Linked DNA regions of Homo sapiens: region 2 is linked to region 1. Evidence: promoter capture Hi-C in human tissues and cell types (Jung and others, 2019). All regions are on one chromosome and are shown on one strand. The core of a region is centred on a gene start or on the middle of the fragment in contact, and the rest is flanking DNA. Distances in the headings are between cores, read along the strand shown.

Region 1 (6,807 bases), core at 1,510-4,009:
ACAAGTACAAATATATTTAACTTAATGTATTAAGACAAATACATTTAACCACAAGTAATGTATAGCTATCCTGGACAGCAGATCTGATGCTGGCTGAAGTGATGGGGATGGGGCACGTATGTGACGTTATCTGCTAGTTCTCAAATTCTGGCCACCCACTGCAGCCCATGACATCCCCCATAAAGTCACCTTCTGGAGAGATTCCCCACTGACACAGAGCACTGGGGGACCAACAATGCGAGAGGAGCTCTTTCACTGGCTAGCAAACCCACGCCTGCCTTACTGTAGGTGTTATTCAAATTGCCTCTGCAAAATGACATAAATGACAAAACATTTGCATTAGCCTTGGGCTGAGGAGCGTCTAAATTAAGACTATTGACTCCTTAAACAGCAATACTACCTTAAGAATACTACCTTAAATACTACCTTAAGAAAACCGGCCCAAGTCAGTGTCTTTACACTAGATGACAAGGTCGGGGAGGGGAGTTTTCCTGGGGAAATAGTCTGTTCTCCACTAGCCACATTTACAGCTTCTGACTGGTTGCAGAGAAGGCCTGGACACCCAGTGAACAGTTTTCTAAGTTGTCAAATCACCTAGTTCAAGAATGGTATTAAAAAATCTGGCCAGGTGCAGTGGCTGACGCCTGTAATCCCAGCACTTTGGGAGGCTGAGGCAGGTGGATCACCTGAGGTCAGGAGTTTGAGACCAGCCTGGCCAATATGGTGAAACCCCTCCTCTGCTAAAAATACAAAAATTAGCTGGGCGTGGTGGCGTGTGCCCGTAATCCCAGCTACTGGGGAGGCTGAGACAGGAGAATTGCTTGAACCCAGGAGGCAGAGGTTGCAGTGAGCCGAGATCGCGCCACTGCACTCCAGCCTAGGAGACAGAACGAGACTCCATCTCAGAAAGAAAAAAAAAAATCGAGGGGGGTCGTCTCCCCAGGACAGCTTGTGGCTTTAAAACATTATGCGAGATGAATCATTCTTGAAAAGCCCCCTGGGTCGGGGATAGTGGCTCACACCTGTAATCCCAGCACTCTGGGAGGTGGAGGCAGGTGGATCACTTGAGGCCAGGAGTTCGAGACCAGCCTGGCCAACATGGCGAAACCCCATCTCTACTAAAAACACATAAATTAGCTGGGCGTGGGAGCCCACGTCTGTAGTTCCAGCTACTCCAGGGGCTGAGGCACGAGAATCGCTTGAACCAGGGAGGCGGAGATTACAGTGAGCCGAGATCAGCCATTGCACTCCAGCCTGGGCGACAAAGCGAGACTCTGGCTCTAAAAAAAAAAAAAAAAAAAAAACAAGAAAAGCCCCCTAATCAGTCCTTAGAGATAGGTGTGGGCCCAAGCCAGAGGTGCAGGCTTTGTCAAATTGCTGCCTCAGGATACGGTCTTGAGGGTGGCTGTGGGGACACCCAGCACCTGCACCCCAAGGCCACACGGTGTCAGATTTTAGGAAGCGGTGGAGAACACTCGGGTACCTTCTCGGTCCAGACATCAACCTTCTGGAGAGAACCAAAGCACCCACACTGGGCCCTCGCCATCCTAACAGTCTGCCCACCTGTGAGAAACGCCCCCAAATACTCTACATTTCTCGGTTGGCCGAAAAGCAGCTCAGCCAGCGGTCTTACCTCCCAGGTGGGGTTTCCCCCCAGGGTAGGGAGGCCAGGGTCTGCAGGCCAGGGAGAGGAGCCCCGGTGCAGGAGCGGGCGGGGCAGCAGGAGGACCCGCTCCAGCCACCCAGAAGTGGGCGTGGGCTAGAATTCAGCTCCCAGCCTTCCAGAAGCTGCAATTTTACAACCTCACTACAAGCGTCCCCCAGCAAAGCTGCACCGCCATTTCCTGTGCTTGGGAACTGAAGGCAAGGTGAGCCCCTCCCGGCTGCCCCGGCCCGACCTCCCCTGACTCCCAAGCTTGGGCTACTCACGGCCTGCGGGCTGGGCAGGGTCCCCCAAGGGAGCTCCCCTCCCCGAGGGCGCGCTCACCCTAGCCGCTGGGATCGGCGACCTGGTCCTCGGCCCGGCGGGAGTGAACGCCTCCCAGGGAAGAGGCCGGGCCTCCAAGCAGGTCTGCACCCCCGGAGTTATGTTTCTGGGATCCGAGGACTAGCGAGCTTGGGGCCCGGGAGAGCGGCCACCCTCCCGGAAGCTCCGCCTGGCGCAGGGCGTGAACCGCAGTCTCCAGGCCGGCCGGGCCGCGGCCATTCTCGGAGGGCAGCGGCCGCCCCGGGCCGGGCCAAAGCTCCCCACCGCGGGCCCTCACCTGCGCCTCACCTGGGGCTCCAGGAGCGCGGGGCGCGCGGGCCGAGAGTCGCACGGAGGCCAGAGACAGGATCCCCGCCCGGGGAACGGAGCAGCCCCGGCGCCGATCCCCGTCCGCCTGCCTCGGGGAGCCCCCGCCGCCCGCCCGCCGCGGCCTGCACGGCGCGCCGGCCCCGGCCTGGCTGGCCCTCCTGTCCCCGACCCCCCAGCTTCCCAGCCCCCGAGCCCCCCGGCCCCGGCCCTGCACCCGCTCACCTCCGCCCGTCCCCCGCCGCCCGCCGCGCGGACCCCGCCTGCGCCCGCGTCCCACGTCCCGGGGGAGGCGGCGGGCCGGGGGCGGGCCGGAGGCTGCAGGGCCAGCGCGCTCCGCCCTCGGCCGGGGCGCGGGGAGGGGGCGCAGGGGCGTCCGGCCGGGCCCCCCGCCTCCCCGCCTCCCCGCGCGCCGCCGCTGCCGCCGCCCCGCGCCCGGGCCGCGCCGTGGGAAGCGCGGGAGGGGAGGGGCGGGGCGGGGGGCGGGGCGACCCCCCCAAGCCGCCCCCTCCCCGCGACCTACCGGACGGTGGCGGCGGCGGCCGCACTCCGGAAGCCGTGCCCGTGGCTGGGCATCATGGGAATGGCACGGCCGAGTTCCGGGGGAGGCGCGCGGCCCGGCCGGACCCCCGCCCGCGAGAGCGCGCCCACCTGCCGCCGCGCCCGCGCCCCGGGGACGCCCCCGCCCCGCCCCGCCCGGTTCGGACGCGGCCCCCTCCGCGGGGTGCGGGGCGAAGGCGCTTGGGCCGGGCCGAGCCCCGTGCTGCCCGCCTCCCGTACCGCGGCCACCTCCGGGGGGCGCGCAGGGGGCGCGGGGTCGCCGGGAAGTTCTGGGCGCGGGGGGCGTGGCCGTGGGAAAGCGCTCGGAGCCGCGGGAAGGGAGCGTGCGGGGCCCCGGCGCCAACCGAGTTCCTCCCCGAAGTTCACGCGGGGCTCCGGGCTGAGACCGGCCCGCCCGCCCCTCCAGCCCCACAGCCTTGGGCCGGGGTCGGGGGCGGCCCCCGCGTGTCCCCGCGGCTGCCCCACCCGAGCTTGCGGCGGGGAGTGGACGCACGACCTGCCCGGGGCGGCGGCTCCTCGAGCACACCTGCCGCCAGGTTCGGGGGAGGGAACAGTTTCTAGGAACTGCCCCGGACCTTGAGGCCGCTGCTGTTTCTGCTTCTGCTGTGCACTGACCATGTGACCTTGAAAGTCTTCCCAGTTTTGTTTTATAAAAGGTCCAGGGTGTGTGCCCGAGGCTGGCGGTGGCCCGGGTGTGCTCAGCATCCCCGGGCGGCGGGGAACGGGCAGACCCGACTGGATCCTCCCTCAGCGCCCACTCGTGGAAGGGGCAGATGGTGCGCAGGGGCACCGCGCTGCTTCTGTAAGCCCCCTGGGCCCTGATCCACACGTGTCTGGGAGATGAATTTGTGGGTTCGGTTCCTGTCTAGAAAGTGTCAGAGATTTGATAGGATCAAAATCAGAGACTTGCCTTGGAGGGGTGCTTCTAGTCATGCCAGCCTGGGAAGCTGGAGGGCCAGTTTTGGGTCAGGAAACCCATTAAAGAATTGTTTTAATGCCTTCGTGAATTTTTTCAAAAAGCAATTTTTTTTTTCTCATGAAATAATACTCTTTCATTACCAAACTTTGGGGAGATGATCTAATTAATAAGGTGACTTCCCAGAGACATGGGCTGTTAAGGTTTTGGCATGCTGCTTCACAGTTTTTAAAACAGTGCTGTGGTGAACAGCTTTCATGATGCCTCCTTAGAGCGGCTCTGAGCATTTCCTGCGGGCAAATCCCTAGAAGAGGCCGGCGGGCCAAAGACTATGCTGCATTTTGCCAAAATGCCCTCCAGAAATGCGGGGCCAGCCTGCCGTCCACCCACTGGTGAGCGGGCATGCCCGCTTGCCTGTCCTCTTGCCAGCCCTGAGATATGTCATTGCGTTATGTCTTTGGCAGTCTGATAGGCGAAACAGCCCTTTTCATCACTTGAATCCTAATTTCTTTGACTGCTGGTGATGTTGAACATCTTTTCATTTTATTATTGGCCATTTGGAATATTGCCTGTCTGTGTTCTTTGCCCATTTTTTATTTTTCTGTTGGGCTGTGTGTCTTTTTCTTAGGGATTCTAAGAGCTTGTTACCGTAAGGAATTTAGCTCTTCTCTGTGCTGTATGCTACTCTGTACAAGAGCGTAAATGCAATGTATGGTCGGGCGCGGCGGCTCACCCCTGTAATCCCAGCACTTTGGGAGGCCAAGTTGGGCAGATCACCTGAAGTCAGGAGTTTGAGACCAGCCTGGCTAACATGATGAAACCTCGTCTCTACTAAAAAATACAAAAATTAACCGGGTGTGGTAGCGGGTGCCTGTAATCCCAGATAATCGGGAGGCTGAGGCAGGAGAATTGCTTGAACCCAGGAGGTGGAGGTTGCAGTGAACCGAGACGGTGCCACAGCACTCCAGCCTGGGTGACAGAGCGAGACTCTGTCTCAGAAAAAAAGTGTATTGTACAACAGTACAATAACACAGAATATTGTACAGTAGTACAATATACTCTTGTACATTGCATTTATTTTTCTGTCATTTTTCTTTTGACTTTGGATTTTGGTTTTTTGTTTGTTCAACCTTTTTTTTTTTTTTTTTTTTTTTTTGAGACAGGGTCTTACTCTGTGTACACCCAGGCTGGAGTGTAGTGGCGTGATCATGGCACTGCAGCCTCAACCTCCCCCGGCTCAGGTTATCCTCCCACCTCAGCCTCCCCAGTAGCTGGGACTACAGGTGCACGTCACCACGCCTGGCTAGTTTTTGTATGTTTTTGTAGAGATGGGGTTTTGCCATGTTCCCCAGGCTGGTCTTGAACTCCTGGCTTGAGTGATCCACCCTCCTTGGCTTCCCAAAGTGCTGGGATTACAGATGGGAGCTACTGTGTCCTGCCTTTTTATTTTTTTACTACACACAAGTTTGAAGTTCTTCTGTAGCTAAATCAATCAAGTTTTCTTTTGTGGTTTCTGGCTTTGGGGTAAGGCCTGGAATAGCTTTTACCACTCTAAGATTTCATAATCATTCACCAGTTTAATCCCTGCATTCCAAAGTAAGAGAACAGTGGAGGGCATGGAGGGGTGTGACCTGGGGCTCTTGGGGAATTCCTGGGCCAGAGTGTGTGGCACGTAATAATAGTTTCTCAAAACAGGGAACACTTGTACTCCTTTTTTGAAGCTACCGATGTTCAGAGATTGGTTGGTTGGTGCTTTTTTTTTTTTTTTTATTAAATTCTTAGGAGGCCTCAACAGTGCCTTGTGAGGCCTTCATTGGAGGAACAGGAGGGGCGTCTGTCATTGTCAGACTCTCCTGTTGTGAGAGGCTCTGGCCTTGGCCTTGGGACCCCCTAGTCAGGCTCCTCACTGTGCAGTCTGTGCCTCCGGGGATCAGCACGCAGGGTCACCTTCATTATCCGCCATGGAGGAAGTGAGGACTCCTGGCATCTTTCTGCCCAGCCCGGGGCTCTGCTGTCCATGGGTGGATGGGCGGTGGCAGCAGGGACAGGTGCAGTGGGCTGCACGTCTCACCTGAGGGGCTCTGGTGGGCTCTTGGGTCCCTATGTGGCTGTTGCTCCCCTCTGGGCCTCTGCTTGGCCTTCTGTGAAGGGCACAAAGAGTCCAGTGGGACCACATGAAGGTCACTCTCCATGTGGAGTGGAGAGACCGCCTGGGAGAGATGGCTGAGGGCCTGCTGGGGACCAAAGTCTGAGCTCATAAAGAAAAGCCAGCAGTTCCTCTGTTGCTCTTTTCCTTTACAGAATTAGTTACATTGTCATAATTAAAGAAAACTCAAGGGCTGGGCTCAGTGGCTCATGCCTGTAAACCCAGCACTTTGGGAGGCCGAGGAGGGCGGATTGCCTGAGATCAGGAGTTCAAGACCAGCCTGGCCAGCATGGCGAAACCCTGTCTCTACTTAAAAAAAAAAAAAAAAAAAAAAAAAAAATTAGCTGGGTGTGGTGGTGCACACCTGGAATCCCAGCTGTCAGGAGGCTGAGGCAGGAGAATCGCTTGAACCTGGGATGGGAGACTCTGTCTCAAAACAAAAACAAAGAAACTCATGTGAAAGAAGGCAACATTTCCCCCCAACACAAGGAAGCTCCACAGTCCCCTGGGAGGACCCAAGGATGCAGGCGCCCCAGACCCTGCTGGCAGGAGGACACAGTGTCTGTTGGGAGGTCATCCTGCTGTGTCTGTTAACTATAAATTGCAGGTCACATTTGAGTGTTGCTTAGCCCTTCGTCCTGAAGTTACTTGCAGTTTGTCCAGGCACGCGCCAACAAGGACTGCTCCAACCTTGTCAAAGCAGAACCCCCGTAAGTGACCAGATGGGGAGAGTGAAATGAACCCTGGAACCTCCTGCACCTCTGGGCCTCTGCTGGAAGGGAGGCGGGTCCGTGTGCCCCAGTGCAGAAGGAGTCCAGGGAGCATAAGAAAGTGGAAAACGCTTGCAGCAGAATGATGTAAAGTGTCACCCCGGTGCATTTTCAGAATCAG
Region 2 (6,486 bases), core at 2,650-5,149, 470 kb after region 1:
AATCCCAGTTACTAGAGAGGCTAAGGCAAGAGAATCACTTGAGCATGGGTGGCAGAGGTTGCAGTGAGCCAAGATTGTGCCACTGCACTCTAGCCTGGGTGACAGAGGGAGACTCCGTCTCAACAACAACAACAGCAAAAAACAATGGGGGCATTTAGTGCTGCAGAGCCTCAAAGCCCAACCAGGGGCTTTGTCCTCTGGACCCCAGACCCACGCAGGCAGCTCCTGGCAGGCCCAGACCTGCCCCTCCCAGAAGCCACCTTGGAGCTGCCTGCAAATTAGCCGCAGGCTCCTAAGAGTCATTGCGATTTGAGGACTTTGCAGTTATCAGCCTGACCGGTTCCCCTGGAGCTCTACCACACTTTCCAGGTTTGGGAATTCAACTCTGGTCTGGGAAGGCTGAGAAGGGACTCAGGGACTGCTGGGTGGGTAGCTGCGTCCTCACAGGGACCTGTGGGCAAGCTCAGCATCTCGGCTCCTGTCCTGGCACCTCCTGCTCTGTGAGGTCCATGAGGAGGAGATCCGAGCTGTCCACGCTTGGGCTCCATCCACGAGCAGGTGCACAGTAGACTTGTGGGCCTGCAGCCCGTGGCCTCTACCCTGTCCCTGCACAATCTGGGCCCCCAGCTGGGTGTGAGCCCGTTTTCCTAATTGTGTGAGAGGCTCTAATGAGCCTGTTTAATCTCAGCCCATCGCTTAAGAGTGCGTACATGCTGGCAAAGTGCAACCTCTCTAAGCTCCCTCTTCCTACTCTACCTACTCTATAAAAGAAGACGACACCTGTTTCACAGGAGTCTAATGAAGATGCCACGAGAGGCAGTGCCCCAGCTCTTCAATAGCGGCCACCCTTAGCTCTGCTATTCACTGTGTTTCAGGCTGTTATGAGTTGTTATTGATACGTTGTTGTTTTTATTGCCTGTGGGAAGAGGGGCCAGTTTCTGATGCCTAGGGAGTAGAAGGGTCTCCCTCTGTGGCTAATTAGCATGTCCCAAGTATTTTACGGGACATGTTTATAGTAAATAACAAAATTTTCATTTATCTGGAATTCAAGTCTTATTTTCAGGAGGATGATGACGCCAAGAAGAGGAAGCAGCTGTCACTGCATGCCCTGGCATGTGGGTGAATGTGTGGTGTGGGTGTCTCCCCAGCTAACCTTTTTATAAACAGCTCTATTGAGATATATTCACATACTGTACAATTACCCATTAGAGTGCACAGTTCAATGGTTTTGTAGCATATTTATGGATAAGTGCAGCCATCACTACAGGCAATTTGAGAACATTTTCATTCCCTCAAAAAGAAGCCCCACCCCTGTCGCCTGTCACTGCCCATCCCCGCTCCGCTCAGCCCTAAGCGACCCCTGCCTGGCTGCACGTCCCTGTGGGTTTCCACATCCGGACATTTCACTCGAATGGAATCCCATAAAATGGGGTCTTTGTGACTGGCTTCTTGCACCCACCACGCGTTCCAGGTCCACCCGTGTTGCACCAAGCGTCAGAACTCCGTTCCTTCCTATGGCTGAGCAGCGTTCCATTGTGTTAGACAGTATTTTTGTCATCCACTCATCAGAGTATGGTGACAAAGACTTCCTCCCTATCAGGGTCCTCTGACGTCGGTCTGCCACCCCACCCTTCACCTGCCATTCCCAGCTTTAGCAAAAGTCATGCTAAACCTATTTGCTGAGAATCCTGCACTCTTCATGCCTGACATGTTCTACATCCTCCAGCCTGGACATCTGGACCCTTGGTCTGCCTTTAGCAAGGATTCTGTTAGGCCCCCTCAGCACGAATCCCCTGCCCTCGCCGTCTAAGGGAGCTCCTCTTCATCAGTTTCCACCCACTGCCCCTCACTCTGCTGACCTGCTGAACATCCCCAGCTGCCTCTGTCTACTCAGAGTTGAGCTCAGTTCCACACTAAAGCCCTTTCCTCCTATTGGGGTAGCTGGAATAAAATCTGTCTTGCTGTTTTTAACAAGCGTCTGGTGCACATTTTGTAACTGACAGCGGGCCTCTGGCTGTTCCTGCCTTTGGGCTCTTACGAATGGAGCTGCTGTGAATCTCCAAGTGCGCGTTTTTGTGAGGCCTCTGCCTTTGTTTCTCTTGGGTGTGGATGCAGGAGTGGAACTGCTGGGTCAGCGGCTGAAATGCACGTTCAACAGGGTGTCCTGCATTTTTATCTGGCAATGCCTGGTCCAGCCCACGCATGTGTCCTGCGACAGGCTCGGGAGGACAACCTACGCCGTGCACCAGTGGGCTTCTCCCTTGGGACTGGCGCCTCCTCAGAAAGAAGCAGATGCCAGGAAAGGTGAGCGTTGCTCCTGTTGCTTGCTTGCAACCATGTGCACTTTCCTGTGACCACTGTGTCTGTCTTCCTCGGCTCTGGGATGAGACCCCCGCCTGAGTCCTGCTGCCCCAAATTCCCCAGTGGACTTCAATAAAACCTTACCAAGAAGAGAGGAATAAGGCCACCTTGGGCCTTCACACACACAACACTTCTCAGGAAGGTGAGTGGAAAACAGAAATCTCGTGTTACTCTGTAAAAGTAGAAGATACCTGCTTCCCGGGGGTCTAATGAAGATGCCCCCAGAGGCAGCGCCCCAGCCCTTCAACAGGGGCCACCCTTAGCTCTGCTGTTCACTGTGTTTCAGGCTGATTTTATTTGAGCTCCCGCAGTAGGAGGAAAAGATTTTAGTGTGGAACTGAGCTCAATTCTGAATAGACAGACAGCTGGGGATGTTCAGCAGGTAAGCAGAGTGAGGGACGGTGGGTGGAAAATGATTAAGAGGAGCTCCCGTAGACAGCAAGAGCAGGGGATTCGTGCTGAGCTGGCTTAATAGGATCCTTGGTAAAGGCAGACCAAGGGTCTACACGTCCAGGCTGGAGGATGTAGAACATGATCAGGCATGAACAGTGCAGACTCGGGACCCCTGTGACTCAGCTCGGGTGCCGGAATGAAATCCCACGGGCTGTGCAGCTTTAACCACACTCTCCAGACCCCTGTGACGCAGCTCGGGCGCCGGAATGAAATCCCACGGGCTGTGCAGCTTTAACCACACTCTCCGGACCCCTGTGACGCAGCTCGGGCGCCGGAATGAAATCCAAGGGCTGTGCAGCTTTAACCACACACTCGATTGATTTCCTCACAGTCCCAGAGGCTGGAAGTTTGAGGTGCAGGTGGAGGCAGGGCTGGTTCCTCCTGAGGCCTTTCTCCTGGGCTTGCAGATGGCGTCTTCTCCCTGCGTCCTCATGTGGTCATCCCTCTGTGGGCTTCTGTGTCCTAATCTCCTCTTCTTTTAAGGACACCAGTCACAATGGATTAGAGCTCATCCTGAAGACCTCATTTTACCTTAGTGACCTCTGAAAAGACGCTATCTCTGATACTCTCACATTGTGAGGTCCTGGGGGCCTAGGACTTCAACATACAAATTTGGGGGAACACAGACACCCAGCCCATAACATGAACCAAACCCCAAAGTGGCACTGGGGCTTTTCTCCGGGGACCGCCATCATTTTGGAGAAGGAAGAGGATTCTGGAAAAGATCCACCCAGGCCCAGAAAGGGGAAGGGAAGGAGGGAGACAGAGCGGGGGAGGCGGGAAAGGGGCCAGGAGCATGGTGCGGGGTCCCTCACAGCCTGGCCTCAGGGCTCCTGGAGGGAAAGAAGTGGGGACGTCCCCTGCTCCCCAAGAGGAAGTCTGACTTTGGGCCCCCGGTGAGGACTGGATTCCTAAATCCAGATGTCCTGTTCCTTTCTCTCTAAGGGCCAGAGGGAAACAGGACATTCAGCTCCTGGCCCACCCGTCTTTGTCATTTTAATTAAAATCAGGGCTCGTGGTGGTTTAGACAGTTGCCCTCATTAGCACTAAATCAAGCACCCATTTTTAAGATATAGGCCCCTTGAAAGTGAAGAATGGCAGGGCTGAGAAATAAATATTTGAAAAGGGCAGCGAAGCCACAGACCTGCCTCCCTTGGCTTCCTGCCGACTGGTTTCAGCTCCATTTCTCTCCCCTCGTCTCTGACAAATGGCCCCTGCACGGAGTCCACCTGTGAGGCTGGGCCCCTGGCTGAGGCCTCACGAGAGGGAGGCTGAGGACCCCAGGGCAGATGGCCAGTTCTGCTGCCCCTTCCTCTCAGGCCTGGGGAGAGTCTGTGTCCCACAGAGAGGAGACGGAGATAGGGCAGGGGTTGGAGGAGCTTCCTAGGAGCCTCTGGGGTGGTGGCCTCTGCAGATACCAGCACCCTCCTGAACAGGTAAGAACAGGCAAACAGCACGTCTCAGTGACATCTCTGGGCCCAGTGACAGGCTCCTTCCCCATTGAGTCCGAGTCCATAGGAAACACTAACATTCCCTTTTGGAAAAAGATAAGTAACTCCATGGTGGAGACACGTGACGTGCACATCCTCTGCCAGTGACCAAGGCCAGTGTCAGCAGTGAGAGTCAAGTGGACGGCACATGATCCTGCTGATGTGCGTGGGTGGAGGGGCATTGCCTTCCTGCTCCTCCTCCCAAACCCATCACCCAGTCTACCTGTGAGAAACACAGCAGACAGAGCCCCACCAAGGGGCAGGTGACCTGAGGTCAGGAGTCTGAGACTAGCCTGCCCAATATGGTAAAACCCACCCTGTCTCTACTAAAAATACAAAATTAGCCGGGCATGGTGGCAGGTGCTTATAATCCCAGCTACTCGGGAGGCTGAGGCAGGAGAATCGCTTGAACCCAGGAGGTGGAGGTTGTAGTGAGCAGAGATTGCACCACTGCACTCCAGCCTGGGCAACAGAGTAAGACTCTGTGTCAAAAAAAAAAAATAAATAAATAAATAAAAAAAACACCTAAACAGCATCCCTCAAAACTGTCAAGGTCATCACAGATGGGGAAAGGCTGAGAAACCACCACAGCCAGGAGGAAACCGAGACGACACAATGTCCTGTGGTGTCCTGGACAGAAAAGGGACCTCAGAAGAAAGATTAGTGAAATTCAAATCAGGTCTGAAGTTTAATTAATGATAGCATTGCAGCAATGTTGCTTTTCTGGTTGTGACCAACGTACCTGGTCATACAAGATGCTGACGATAGGAGATGCTGGTGACAGGTCTACAGGGACTTTGCAGACACCAGTCCCCTCCCTGGGCCCCACACACAGGATCTGAGAAGAGCAAGGCTACTGGAGATGCCCTGCATGGGCCTGGGCCCTCCGGCTGCTCCCAGCCCACCTCTCTCTGTGTGCCTCTCCTATCTCTCTGCTCCCCGCTCCCCAGACCCTCTGGCCCTCCCACCGCTTCAGGAGCTGGGTTCCTACTCAGCTGTCAGCCTTTGGGTCTGGGAGTCAAAGGGCATTGCTCTAGCAGCATGAAATTCTGATTCTTAGATTATCTTTGAATCTGAAACTTAATTTACTGACAGGTAGACCATTTACTCCAATGAGTCAGAAGCCCATTGCTGGCCAGTGCTGATTTTGAGATGCAGATGAAGCTTAGGTTCTGGTGGAGGCTTGGGTGGAAAGTGTCCTGAACCTTCCTTGGGTGGAAGAAGTGAGATCATTGACTCAAAATCCAAGATGCTTGGCAAGCCATGACAGAGCTGTCACCAAACGTTTCACATGCACTATTTAATTACTGACAAGGATCAGATGAGATAGGTATTGTTTCCTATCTCAAATGGTCCTGATGATGTGCATGGGTGGAGGGGCATTGCCTTCCCCTCATCCCCAGATTCCCATTTCAGACAAAGAAACGGAGGCTACTGTCTTTCTCAAGTTCACAGAGCTAGGAACAGCAGGGTCAGGATTTGAACCCAGGTCCCCATGGCTCCAAGGGCATAAACTTCACCATTACCACCAGATCTCCTAAACTGACTTCCTACCTTGTCAACTAGTTATGGGTGGGGCAAATAGCACCACTTATCCATCTGTGGCTTGTGCAGACAGTTTGGTCTTGGGGACTGCTAGGACCCCCTGATCTCTGGGCTCTTTGGGTAGGTGGAGAGGGGCTCACTGGGCCACTATTGCTTAGCTGCATTGTTCTGATTGGGCTCAGATGTGAGCTGTCGGTTGAGTTCCTAATTGCTCTTCAGCCGATCCGGTTGGCTGTTGAGGCTTACAGGAAGGCTTGGCTTTCTGGATTTGCTCTTCCAGCTTTCACTCCAGTGGTCACATCTGCGTTTAGCCTACAGTGCTCTGGGCCACTGGAGCTCCAGGCCTGGCCTCATGGGGGTCTTTTTTGTTGAGCCACCTTCCAGGGCTGCATTGGGGACCGTCCTTTGAGAGCTGGAGGGATGGCGTCATGAAGTCCCCTTGTGCACAAAACAAGGTGTGAAACAAGGCAGGCAGGGGATCCCTGGGAGCAAGTGTCAGAAGCACCCGGGGGATCCTGAGCAGATGCCAGCCCCACCCTCAGATTCTGCCTCCATGGGTCGGGGGCCAAGGGTTTGCACCTCTAACAAGCCAGGGCTACCACTGGGCTTGGGCCTCCCCTCGAGAACCGCCCTGAGC

What was found. The method cuts DNA at HindIII sites, captures the fragments that hold promoters and counts their contacts. A contact is called where the count stands out against the background at its distance.
Region 2: a contact is called between a fragment that was not itself captured here and the fragment with the promoter of PPP1R26 in region 1, in 1 of the 25 tissues and cell types used here (pancreas).

The regions. Positions count from the first base shown.
Region 1 is chr9:135,475,734-135,482,540 of GRCh38, reverse strand. It overlaps PPP1R26 (protein phosphatase 1 regulatory subunit 26), which reads right to left and starts at 2,759. Exons shown (of 4, transcript NM_014811.5): 1 at 2,519-2,759. RefSeq lists silencers at 2,118-2,167, 2,178-2,237. The HindIII fragment of the contact is 17,940 bases long and covers 1-6,807 here.
Region 2 is chr9:135,011,071-135,017,556 of GRCh38, reverse strand. No RefSeq gene overlaps it. Among named protein-coding and RNA genes, the nearest start is that of OLFM1, 73 kb to the left of the region's middle. The HindIII fragment of the contact is 6,445 bases long and covers 677-6,486 here.